2 separate regions of the Homo sapiens genome follow, and region 1 is linked to region 2. The links are contacts of gene promoters, found by promoter capture Hi-C in human tissues and cell types (Jung and others, 2019). All regions are on one chromosome and are shown on one strand. Each heading gives the region's core, a stretch centred on a gene start or on the middle of the fragment in contact. The rest is flanking DNA. Distances are from core to core; before and after follow the strand shown.

Evidence for each region. Contacts are between HindIII fragments. The study calls those that stand out against the background at their distance.
Region 1: a contact is called between a fragment that was not itself captured here and the fragment with the promoter of SLC35G3 in region 2, in 1 of the 25 tissues and cell types used here (H1 embryonic stem cells).

What each region holds. Positions count from the first base shown.
Region 1 is chr17:35,318,653-35,325,508 of GRCh38, reverse strand. No RefSeq gene overlaps it. Among named protein-coding and RNA genes, the nearest start is that of SLFN11, 52 kb to the left of the region's middle. The HindIII fragment of the contact is 7,056 bases long and covers 1-5,122 here.
Region 2 is chr17:35,189,810-35,195,876 of GRCh38, reverse strand. SLC35G3 (solute carrier family 35 member G3) reads left to right here and starts at 1,484. Exons shown (of 1, transcript NM_152462.2): 1 at 1,484-3,357. The coding sequence starts at 1,570. The coding sequence ends at 2,586. It also overlaps the pseudogene SPICP2. The HindIII fragment of the contact is 5,493 bases long and covers 1-4,979 here.

The DNA of each region.
Region 1 (6,856 bases), core at 345-2,844, 130 kb before region 2:
TATTTTATTATTCTTAATAGCTCTATTCATAATAGTCAAAACCTGGAAATAACCCAGAAGTTTTTCACTTGACAAATGGAAAAGCAGTGGTATATTTTCTTAAAAAATTTTTGTGGGTACATAGTAGGTATATATATTTATGAGGTACATGAGGCATTTTGATACAGGCATGCAATGCACAATAATCACATCATGGAAAATGGAGTAGCAATTCCTTCAAGCATTTATCATTTGTGTTACAAACAACCCAATTACACCTTTTAAGTTATTTTAAAATGTACAGTTAAATGATTATTGACTATAGTCACCCTGTTGTGCTATCAAATACTAGGACTTCTTCATTCTATTCCTTTTTTTGGACACATTCTACATCCCCACTGCCCACCAACTCCTTCAACCACACTTCCCAGCCTCTGGTAATAATCCTTCTACTCTCTATCTCTATGAGTTCAATTGTTCTGGTATTTAGATCCCACAAATAAGTGTGAACATGTGATGTTTGTCTTTCTGTGCCTGGCCTTATTTTGTTACCAAAACACCAGGGGTTTAGTCTAGGTCCTGCTGCTCCCTGCACAGAAAGCCAATGACTGAGACAATGATTATTGCCAAGGAAGAAGGCTTTAATCAGGTGGTGTAGCTGAGGGGATGGGAGATCAGTCTCAAATCCATCTCCATGACTGACTAGAACTAGGGGTTGATATAGCAGGGAAGAAATGTAACAATGTGTAAGAAAATAAGAACTAGGGAGAGGCAAGGAAGCAAACATGGTGAATGAGGGGTCCAGCATCTGGTGAGGTGATCTGGTGAGTTTCAGTTCTTTGATCCTTTTTTTTTCAGAGGCCTGAAGGTCCTGTCCTGAGGAAGGAATGCAGATAAAACAAATATAAGTTTCAAGCTTTAAGACCAGAAGGGTCAATTTCTATGTTTATCAAAAAGATCAGTCTATGAGACTATTGGGTCAGTTTCAGCCCCCACTTTCTATTTATCAATTCCTCAGACATGAGGAATCTGGTCATCAATCTTTCTGGCTGCTTCATGCTGAGGAGGGGTGTCATAGGCAGCTCCATACCATGGGTGACCACGTGGCTGCCCAAGAATCAGACGTTAATCTAATATAGACTTTTCTTCTGAAACACAATCTTTGGAAGCAGAGAAACTCTAAGCAGACAGGGGAGGGTCCCCAGTGGAAATCCCACCTTCAAGCCAGAAATATCCTTAAACCCACTGCCCAAAGTGAGAACTTCTATTCCTGTTTGCCTACTCTCTCCTGATTGGTTCTTTCTGAATAATATCTTTACCAATGGAATGTCGCCTTTTCCAAAACTACCTATGGCCTGCCCATACCCATCCTGTGCCTATAAAGACCTCAACCTCCCTCCCTCAACCAGGAGGGAGAAGAAGTGGCTGGACATTGGGGAAAGATGAATTGACTACATAGATGATGGCTGGATGTCACAGAGAGGCAACTTGACTTTGGAGGAGAGAGGCAGAGTGGTGACTTGACTTCAGGAGAGAGAAACCTGCCCTTCCCATCCCTTTGCCACCTTGCCAGCTCTTCTCTCTACTGAGAGCCACTTTCATCACTCAGTAAACTCCACCTTCACCATCCTTCATCTGTGTGACCTGACCTCATTCTTGCTTTTTTTTTTTTACTCAGATGGAGTCTTGCTCTGTCACCAGGCTGGAGTACAGTGGCGCGATCTCGGCTCACTTCAACCCCCACCTCCTGGGTTCAAGCAACTCTTCTGCCTCAGCCTCCTGAGCAGCTGGGATTACAGGTGTGTGCCACCATGCCCGGCTATTTTTTGTATTTTTTTTTTTTAGTAGAGACGGGGTTTCACCATGTTGGCCAGGCTGCTCTTGAACTCCTCACCTTGTGATCCACCCACCTTGCCCTCCCAAAGTTCTGGGATTACAGGCATGAGCCACCACGCCTGGCCAACCTCATTCTTCTTTGGCACTGGACAAAAATTGGGGACCCACCAAGTGCAGGTACCCAAAAGGGCTGTCACACTGGCCCTTTGCTCTCACTGGCAGAGGGCAGCAGCCCCATTGATGAGTCAAAGGGCCCACTGAGCTGATAACACAGTGCTATCTGTGAAAGGTGGAGCTAAGAGAGCACTGTAACATTCCCTCTGGGGCCTTGGGGTTGCAGGCACCCCTACCTGGACTCTGCCATGGGGCCTTCATGGTGTTTGCTCCTGCCAGCACCAAAGCAGCCAGCCAGTTCCTGCACTCACTTGCTTACATGCTCTCTTCCACAAGGGATGGAATGCAGTGGGTCCAAGCAAATGGAATTTGCTTCTGTCAGTGCTGAGGCAGCCAGCTGGTTCCTGCACTTGTTCAATTGAGTGCTTCCTCCTGCAAGGGGTTGAGCACAGTGGACTGAGTATACAAGGCACTCCAGTCACAAGTCCCACAAAGGCATCAAGAAAATATCCTGCATCAAAAACATGTTGTTATGAACCATATGCAATCAAATACATTGCTGTGAATTAAGAATATTTACAAATAGTTTACAAATTCTGGAGAAATTAGGCAGAGAGAAAAATATGACTCAAATTCTGTTTACAAACGTATATTTACTTAATACACTTAAAATATGTTTCAAGTTTATAAATAGCTCAAAAGAAAACAATTCTTCAGACTCCAAAAAACAAAACAAAAAGAATCAGCAATATTTCAAACAAAAAAAGCCATAAAAATTATTTCAGTCCTCCATTAGTTCTGTCAATGCAATCAACTCTCACTCTGCTTCATATTGCATTAGCAATCTTTATGAACATATCAGCCTTTCAATAAGTGCAGTGAAAGTTTTCTCTCTGATCTAATGGTACAATCTGCAAAGTTATCAGAAACCTGCATTCAAGAGTCCTTTTAATGAACTCCTCCAAAGAAACAAGACTTGGACTGTAGCTGATTATTAGTAACGTTTTTTGGAAGGATCACAGCAAGACAACATTTGTGGATGAAAAAAGTCTTAGGATAGCCGTAGTCAAAGACACAGTTGACAAGGAAATTTGGTTATTTCTGTGGCATGCAATTTAAAATAATAATCATAATTATTACTGATGATGTTACCAGTGGAGGGTGTCCAGGTTCTTGGTGTTTTGAACAAATAATTGGACAAAATGCACAAAGCAATGAAAGAAAAGCACAGATTTATTTAAATGAAACTACACTCCACAGAATGGGAGTGGGCTGAAGCAAGTGGCTCAAGAGCAGGGGTTACAGAATTTTCTGGAGTTTAAATACCCTCAAGAGGTTTCCCATTGGTTATTTGCTTTACACCCTATGTAAATGAAATAATGGCCCATAACCAGTCTGAATGGTTGTGGAAGGTGACCAATCAGAGTCTGAAGTAAAGTTACAAAGTTATACATGAAGACTTGGCCAATCAGAGGTACTTTCATTTTTCATCTGCAATGCAGAAAAGATGGGGAGAGTTACAAAGAAAGTAGCCTCTGATCCCTTTACTACTTGGGTGTGGAGAGGTGGGGTTAGGTTCTCTGCCTCCAGGCCCAGTTCTCCTGTGCATTTCCCCTCTGAGAGATGTGATCCCCATAAATCTTTATGGGAGGCAGGGGGACTGAGGGTCTTTCTTCTGTAACTGCTTCATGCTGACTTGGAGCACCGTCCCTACCTATTGAGGATTATAGAACTCTCATCCTGCTCTGTCTGGTGGGGAGAGGGTAGCTTCTTGATGGCCAGTGGTGTCTTCACCTGGAACTGACTGGAAACCTCATCACATGATCATCGAAAGCTTGATTGTCTCTAGGGAAAAGGAAATGAATTAAAGACTTAAATCTAAGACCTGAAACCATTAAAATTCTAGATGATAACACCAGAAAAACACTTCTGGACATTGGCTTAGGCAAAGAGTTTATAACCAAGAACACAAAAGCAAATGCAACAAAAACAAAAATAAATAGATCAGACCTAATTAAACTAAAACCTCCTGCACAGCAAAAGAAATAATCAGCAGAGTAAACAGACAACCCACAGAGTGGGAGAAAATATTTTCAAACTATGCATCTGACAAGACTAATATCCTGAATCTACAAGGAACTCAAACAAATCAGCAAGAAAAAAACAAAGAATCCCATCAAAAAGTGGACAAAGGATATGAATAGACAATTCTCAAAAGAGGATATACGAATGGCCAACAAACATATGAAAATATGCTCAACATCACTAATGGACAGGGAAATGCAAATTAAGACCACAACAAGATGACCTTACACCTGCAAGAATGGCCATAATTAAAAATAAAAAATTAACAGATGTTGGCATGCATGTGGTGAAAAGGAAATACTTTTACACTCCTGCTGGAAATGTAATATTATCATATTAACTGTAGGTTTGTCACATATAGCCTTTATTATGTCTAGGTATGTTTCTTCTATCCCAATTTGTTGAGAGTTTTTATCATGAAGGAATGTTGAATTTTATTGAATGCCTTTTCAGCATCTCTTGAAATGATCACATGGTTTTTGTCTTTGATCCTGTTGACATGATGTATCATGTTTATTGATTTGCATATGTTGAATTCCTGGGCTCAAGCAATCCTCCCATCTTGGCCTCCCAAAGTGCTGGGCATGAGCCACTGTGCCTGGCTTTATGTATCTTTTCAAAAAAAAAAAAAAAAAACAGGCCTGGCACGGTGGCTCACGCCTCTAATCCCAGCACTTTGGAAGGCCGAGGTGGGTGGATCACAAGGTCAGGAGATCGAGACCATCCTGGCTAACACAGTAAAACGCCATCTCTACTAAAAATACAAAAAATTAGCAAGGCGTGGTGGCGGGTGCCTGTAGTCCCAGCTTCTCAGGAGGCTGAGGCAGGAGAATGGTGTGAACCCAGGAGGTAGAGCTTGCAGTGAGCCGAGATCGCGCCACTGCACTCCAGCCTGGGTGACAGAGCGAGACTCCATCTCAAAAATAAATGAATAAATAAATAAATAAATAAATAAACCAACTGTTCCTTTTGTTATCTTTTTTATTTCTTTTTTTTTAAAGTCTCAATTTTATTTATTTCTTCTCTGATGTTTATTATTTATTGGTTTTTGCCTCCAATTCCTGACTCACAGACAGCATCTCTGGACCTGCCTGGGGAAACTTGCTGCCCTGAAGGAAAGGATACAAACCTGGCTGCCATTGCCACCCGCTGATTGTATAGTCTTAGAGCCTTGAGTGATCATAGATGGTAGCCAGATTGTAGTTATTGTGGGCATTGGGCAAGACCCAGTGCTATGCTGGCTGCAGGTATGATCCAGCACAGTCTCAGTGGTGGTGGCCTCAGGGGTGCTTGTATCACCACACCCCCAGTTCCAGGTGGCTCACCACAGACAGAAAGACTCCATTTATTTAAGAGAAAGTAAGGGAAAAGGACAAGAGTCTCTGCTTGGTAATCTACAGACTTTTTCCAGACCTTATCCAAGACCACCAAGGTGGTACCTCTACAAGTCTACAAAAGCCACAGCATTGTTGGGCTTGGGGCCCAAGTCCCTTTGAATACCTGGAAATGCTTAACAAGAATGGGAACAAATAAGCCCAAACTATGAAGACTACAATAAATACCTCTCTTCAATTCCCAGACACTGATGAACATCCACAAGCATCAAGATCATCCAGGAAAACATGACCACACCAAACAACTAAATAAGTCACCAGGGACCAATCCTGGAGAAACAGATATATGTGGTTAATATAGTTTGGACATATGTCCCTACCCAAATCTCATGAAATGTAATCCCCAATGTTGGAGGTAGGGCCTGGTTGCTGGTGATTGGATCATGGGAGCAGATTTCTCATGAATGACAGCACCATCCCTGTTGGTACTGTCCTTGTGATAGTGAGTTTTTGTGTGGAAGCAGGTTTGGAACTGGGTAACAGGCAGGTATTGGAAGAGCTTTGAGGGTTCAGAAGAAGACAAGAAGATGAGGGAAAATTTGGAGGCTCTTAGATATTGGTTAAATGGTTTTGACTGAAATGCAGATAGTGATATGGACAATGAACTCCAGGCTGAGGAGTTCTCAAATGGAAATAAGGAACTTATTGGGAAATGGATTCCCTGAACTTCAAGAGAGACATGCTGGGCTTATTAGGCTTATTTGTAATGTTAGAATTATACAGGAAGTGGCTGGGCACAGTGGCTCACACCAGTAATCCGAGCACTTTGGGAGGCCAAGGCGGGCAGATCACCTGAGGTTGGGAGTTCGAGACCAGCCTGACAAATATGGAGAAACCCCATCTCTAGTAAAAATACAAGATTAGCCAGTGTGGTGGCACATGCCTGTAATCCCAGCTACTCAGGAGGCTGAGACAGGAGGATTGTTTGAACTCAGGAGGCAGAGGTTGCAGTGAGCTGAGAACGTGCCATTGCACTCCAGCCTGGGCAACAAGAGTGAAACTCTGTCTCAAAAAAAAAAAAAAAAAAAAAAGAATTATACCGGAAGCATTGTCAAATCTGAGGTGGTGTTAAGCTTCCTTTGGGTTATATTTATATAAATGTGTCGTTAATATGTGTTCCAGGATTATATGAAATTCCTAAAATTCTAATGTGTCTTAATATATGTTGTCAGTAATGTATGATTATTATGTTAAAATAATAAATAACCTAATTTCCTGGTCAACTGTGTCTTTATGTCTGTCTTAAGACTTTTGTCATCCACAATTGATGTTTGGCTTTGATCCTTCTCAAAAAAAAAAGTGAGTTATAATCAGCTACAGTTCAAGAATTACTTCTTTGGAGGGGTTCATGAAAAGAACTCTTAAATGCAAGTTTCTGATAACTTTGGAGATCGTGCCATTGGATTAGAGAGAAAACTTCCAGGGCACCAATTCAAAGGCTGACGTGC
Region 2 (6,067 bases), core at 235-2,734:
ACGCCTGACTGGTTTTCGTATTTTTTTGGTGGAGACGGGGTTTCGCTGTGTTGGCCAGGCTGGTCTCCAGCTCCTAACCACGAGTGATCTGCCAACCTCGGCCTCCCGAGGTGCCGGGATTGCAGACGGAGTCTCATTCACTCAGTGCTCAATGTTGCCCAGGCTGGAGAGCAGTGGCGTGATCTCGGCTAGCTACAACCTCCACCTCCCAGCCGCCTGCCTTGGCCTCCCAAAGTGCCGAGATTGCAGCCTCTGCCCAGCCGCCACCCCGCCTGGGAAGTGAGGAGCGTCTCCGCCTGGCCGCCCATTGTCTGGGATGTGAGGAGCCCCTCTGCCCGGCTGCCCAGTCTGGGAAGTGAGGAGCGCCTCTTCCCGGCCGCCATCCCATCTAGGAAGTGAGGAGCGCCTCTTCCCGGCCGCCATCCCGTCTAGGAAGTGAGGAGCGTCTCTGCCCGGGGGCCCATCGTCTGAGATGTGGGGAGCGCCTCTGCCTGGCCGCGACCCCATCTGGGAGGTGAGGAGCGTCTCTGCCCGGCCGCCCCATCTGAGAAGTGAGGAGCCCCTCCGCCCCGCAGCTGCCCCATCTGAGAAGTGAGGAGCCCCTCCGCCCGGCAGCCGCCCCGTCTGAGAAGTGAGGAGCCCCTCCACCCGGCAGCCGCCCCGTCTGGGAAGTGAGGAGCTTCTCTGCCCGGCAGCCGCCCCGTCCAGGAGGGAGGTGGGGGGCAGCCCCCGCCGGGCAAGCTGCCCCGTCTGGGAGGGAGGTGGGGGGTCAGCCCCCGCCCGGCCGCTGCCCCGTCCGGGAGGTGGGGGGCACCGCTGCCCGGCCGCCCCTTCTGGGAAGTGAGGAGCCCCTCTGCCCGGCCACCACCCCGTCTGGGAGGTGTACCCAACAGCTCATTGAGAACGGGCCATGATGACGGTGGTGGTTTTGTGGAATAGAAAAGGGGGAAAGGTGGGGAAAAGATAGAGAAATCAGATTGTTGCTGTGTCTGTGTAGAAAGAAGTAGACATGGGAGACTTCATTTTGTTCTGTACTGGGAAGGGTTCTTCTGCCTTGGGATGCTGTTGATCTGTGACCTTGCCCCCAGCCCTGTGCTCTCTGGGGCATGTGCTGTGTCCACTCAGGGTTAAATGGATTAAGGGCGGTGCAAGATGTGCTTTGTTAAACAGATGCTTGAAGGCAGCATGCTCGTTAAGAGTCATCACCACTCCCTAATCTCAAGTACCCAGGGACACAAACACTGCAGAAGGCCGCAGGGTCCTCTGCCTAGGAAAACCAGAGACCTTTGTTCACTTGTTTATCTGCTGACCTTCCCTCCACTATTGTCCTATGACCCTGCCAAATCCCCCTCTGCGAGAAACACCCAAGAATGATCAATAAAAAAAAACAAAAAACAAAAAAAGAAAGAAAAGAAGCAGAGTTGGACTCAGTGGGAAAATAGGCGTGCTACCACCTCAGGAGAGTTCCAGGGAAGAATCCCACCCCCACTCCAATGAGGTCACAATGGCTGGAGCTCTGAGGGGCCCAGGCTCCCTGAGCCAGGAGGAGAGGAGAAAGTCCAAGGAAAGATGGCTGGCAGTCACCCCTATTTCAACCAGCCTGACTCCACACACCCATCGCCGCCCTCCGCTCCACCCAGCCTCCGCTGGTACCAGCGCTGCCAGCCCTCTGATGCCACCAGTGGCCTGCTGGTGGCCCTGCTGGGTGGGGGCCTGCCTGCTGGCTTCGTGGGCCCCCTTTCTCGTATGGCTTACCAGGCTTCCAACCTGCCCTCGCTGGAGCTGCTCATCTGGCGATGCCTCTTCCACCTCCCTATTGCCCTGCTACTTAAACTGCGTGGCGACCCCCTTCTGGGAACTCCTGACATCCGAAGCCGGGCCTTCTTCTGTGCCCTGCTCAACATCCTCAGCATTGGATGTGCCTACAGTGCGGTTCAGGTGGTGCCCGCTGGCAACGCTGCCACTGTTCGCAAAGGTTCTTCCACCGTCTGCTCCGCCGTCCTCACTCTCTGCCTTGAGAGCCAGGGTCTCAGTGGCTACGACTGGTGTGGACTGTTGGGCTGCATCCTAGGACTAATCATCATTGTGGGACCTGGACTCTGGACACTACAGGAGGGGACCACGGGTGTCTACACCGCCCTGGGCTATGTGGAGGCTTTCCTGGGAGGCCTGGCGCTGTCCCTGAGGCTTCTGGTCTATCGTTCTCTGCACTTTCCCCCCTGCCTCCCAACAGTGGCCTTCCTATCTGGCTTGGTGGGGCTGCTGGGCTCTGTGCCAGGCCTCTTTGTGCTGCAGGCCCCCGTGTTGCCCAGTGACCTCCTGAGTTGGAGTTGTGTGGGGGCAGTGGGGATCCTCGCCTTGGTCTCCTTCACATGTGTGGGCTATGCGGTCACCAAGGCCCACCCTGCCCTGGTGTGCGCTGTCCTACATTCCGAGGTGGTTGTGGCCCTTATACTGCAGTATTATATGCTCCATGAGACTGTGGCACCTTCTGACATCGTGGCGGCAGGGGTTGTGCTGGGCAGCATTGCCATCATTACAGCCCAGAACCTCAGCTGTGAGAGGACAGGGAGGGTGGAGGAGTGAGATAGAACTTGGGAGCCCGGGGGTTGGGAGGGACAGGGATAAATAAAGGCAAAGACTGAAGACAAACATGGGAGGAGAAGTGACTGGAAAAGAACTGGTGTGGGAGAGGGATACCTCTCAGAGTCAAGGGTGACTTGGGGACTTGGTGGAGAGGGACTACGTGGAAGACCTGGGGCCAGCCTGGGACCAAGGGATGTGGAGTCCAGGCTGGGTCCTAGAATCAGGGCATAACTAAGGGGTAAAGTCTGAGGAGCAGATCCAAAGGGCTGAGGCAGGGAGGCCGTGGGCCATGGGGAGGACTTCACTCAGCAGCAAAGAGAAGAGCATTGGGGCTGGAGTGTTCCGGCAAAGACAGAGCCAGCAGCTGCGCTGGGGGAGGGAAGCGTGCCTCCCCACCCCTCCCCTCACGGGGAAGGTTTCCTTTCCTCGTGCTTGTGCCCCCCGCTTGGGGTGGTGACGTGACATTGACATCAAACAAGGATTACAGTGAATGTGAAAAAAAAAAAAAAAGATACCTGAATAGACATTTCTATGACATTTTAAAAGCCATGAATTTATTTTGGCACAAATATTTTATCATATGCAGTCACTTCTTTGTAAATGATTTTTTGTAAAGTCATTGGATATAAAAGAGTGATTTTCCTCACCTGAGTACATGAAAAGAAAATGCTGAAATCAATGTATAAATCAAATCATCTGTACTAGCACTGTTAATCTAGAAGAAAGTGGTTGCATAGAGAAGAGTAAGAATGTAGACCAGCTTATTGAAGTAGGAAAAGAAAAAAAAAAGGAGCTTCAGAGGTAGGCTTTGCCTCTTAAAAAAATTAAAAACATAAGTCACTGTGTTGTGCTTGGGAGTTAGCAGCAAAAAAAAAAAAAAAAAATGAAGTCACTGTCTGTGAAAGGAAAAGAAAAAATGAAAAGAGTTTGCATCCATTGAAGTATGCAGAAAAAGAAAACAAGTTTTAAAATAAAATAAAATGAGTATAGTTGGGGGCTTAGCAATGGACATACAGAGTGGAGTAATAGACACCGGAGGCTCCAAAAGGTGGGCAGATGGGTGGGGGATGAGGGATGAAATCCTACCTATTGGGTACAATGTTCACTATTCTGATGATGAGGATGCTATGCAATATGCTTTACCACTACGCAATGTATCCATGCAACAAAACTGCACTTGTACTCCTAAATCCATAAAAATTTAAAATTGTCTTGGCTGAGACCTCTTTTAAAAAATAATAAAATAAAAAAATTAGAGAGAATAGTAAGAGCAGAGCAAGGACATTTAGTCTATAGTTTCAAATGGACTTAATCATTTGAAACAATAAAGTTTTTCATTGAATCTTCATAGAGTATTAAAAAAAAAGCTGCTCATTGGCAGAATTTCCCACTGAGTTAGTATAGATTACATGCTCTTTGATAAAAGCAGCAAATAAAGTTACTTGGTTTTTTTTCTCTTTAGTGTTTGCTTTAAGAGAAAAATCCTAAACTCCTTCAGAGGAAGGAAAAAAGAGACAGAGAGTGAGAAATCCTTAAAACTGTAGGGACTTCCAATGCCAGGAAACCATGAAATATGAGAGTATATTTAGCAATCATGGTGATTTAGCTCATGGTAATTGGCATATGTATAATTATAATTTGCATTCCAGTTATTTAAACTGAGATATTCCTGATCAGGTTTAACACACTTGGGGAAAGATCTCTTTCCCCAAGAAATAAGATGGAGAGAGTCTTTGGAGAGTGGCCTAACTGAACTGGTAAGTCAGCTTCCTCCGGATTTTGGTAATTTCCTCACTTCTTCCATAATTTCTCAGTGCCCTGGCCATTTTCTGATAAGTCATGGTCTTCCAACGGCCTTTTCTTTTCCGCCAAAGCTCGGCAAGTTTTCCTTTGTTTTTTGATACAAACGGAAAGATGCCTTTGATTTTATCTACCCACTGAATACAAGGTGCCATCTCCGGATTACACAGGGATTCGTGAAGGTATTCAAACAGTCTAAGCTTCTTCCTGCCTTTTCCCCACTTTTGCTGGAGAATAGTGGGTTGTACCAGCTGGTTTTCAGTTATGTTCTGCAGAGACTGATGAATGTTTCCTTCAAAATAGAAGTCCGCAGCACTGTTGATTACCGTTCTCCAATTACAGAGAGGTTCCTCTGTAGGCAACACTCCATAGCAGCTGGAATTTCCTTTGACGTGAGGACAATAATTGATTAAAGCCAGGTAATTTTTGTAATCTGGCGAGTACTAAAGATCTCCAGTTGAATGTTGCCTCAGTGCCTCAAAAGCATCCTCAAATGCTTGACCCAGCTTGTCTTGTTCAACACACGTCATGTTTCATTAATAAATTGACAATTTTGTTCCTTGGCAATTGTTGCAGGAAGACACTTCAACCCTTTATAGAGATATTTCATTAATATCAGAATTGTAAATTCAATGGTAGGCTGTCATGAAAATAAAAAATTATTTTCCAGCATGATGGTTCTGCCCATCAGTGTCCAATGCAGCATCCACTTGCATATGGTGGAAATAGCCTTCCCCTCCCCTGAAACACATGTCTGCCTCCCGCTTGGCTAACCTGTAACCTGCCATTGTAACAGCTGTCACGTTTGGCCAATTTTATGATTTTCATTGCCTTTTCTTGCCTTTTTGTACTAGCTACGCTCTTCGGTACAAAGTTGAATACAATTGGTAATAGCAAGTACTGTTATCTCATTCTTAATCTCGGGATAATTAAATATCACAGTGGCTATAGATTTTATACAGATAAACTTTATCACATTAAGGAAGCTTCTTTCTATTTTTAGTTTACTGAAGAGTTTTATCATGAATTGTTACTGAATTTTATCAAAAACTTTTCTTACGTCTATTGAGATAGTCATTATTTTATTCTTTATTCTGTTGATGTAGTACATTATATTGGTTGATAGTCTCATATTAACCAACTTATTGTTCTTAGAATAAACATAACTTGATTAATGTGTTATCTTTTTATATATTGGTGGATTTGGGGTGCTAGTATTTAGTAAAGGATTTTGTACCTATAGTCATAAAAGATACTGGTCTACAATTTTCCTATATGTCTTTGTTAAGTTTTGCTATCAAGCTATCCTCATAAAAAGAGCTGAAAGTGTCCTTTCTTTTATCTTCTTTGGAAGGGTTTGCATAAGACTGGTACTGTTTTGGCCAGACGCGGTGGCACACACCTGTAATCCCAACGCTTTGCGAGGCTGAGGTGAGAGGATTATTTGAGCCCAGGAGTTCAAGACCAGCCTGGTCTTTACAAAAAATAAAAAATAAAAATACTTGATGCACCTATAATATCATAGTGAATCTCCATTTCTATATAAAAAAAAAGTTTTTAAAAAGGAAAAGAAAAAAACATTAAGTTGGAGGACTAACAGTGAATATCAGCTACTCAGGAGACTGAGTGGGAGGATCGCTTGAGCCCAGGAGGTTGAAGCTGCAGTGAGCCGTGATCACGC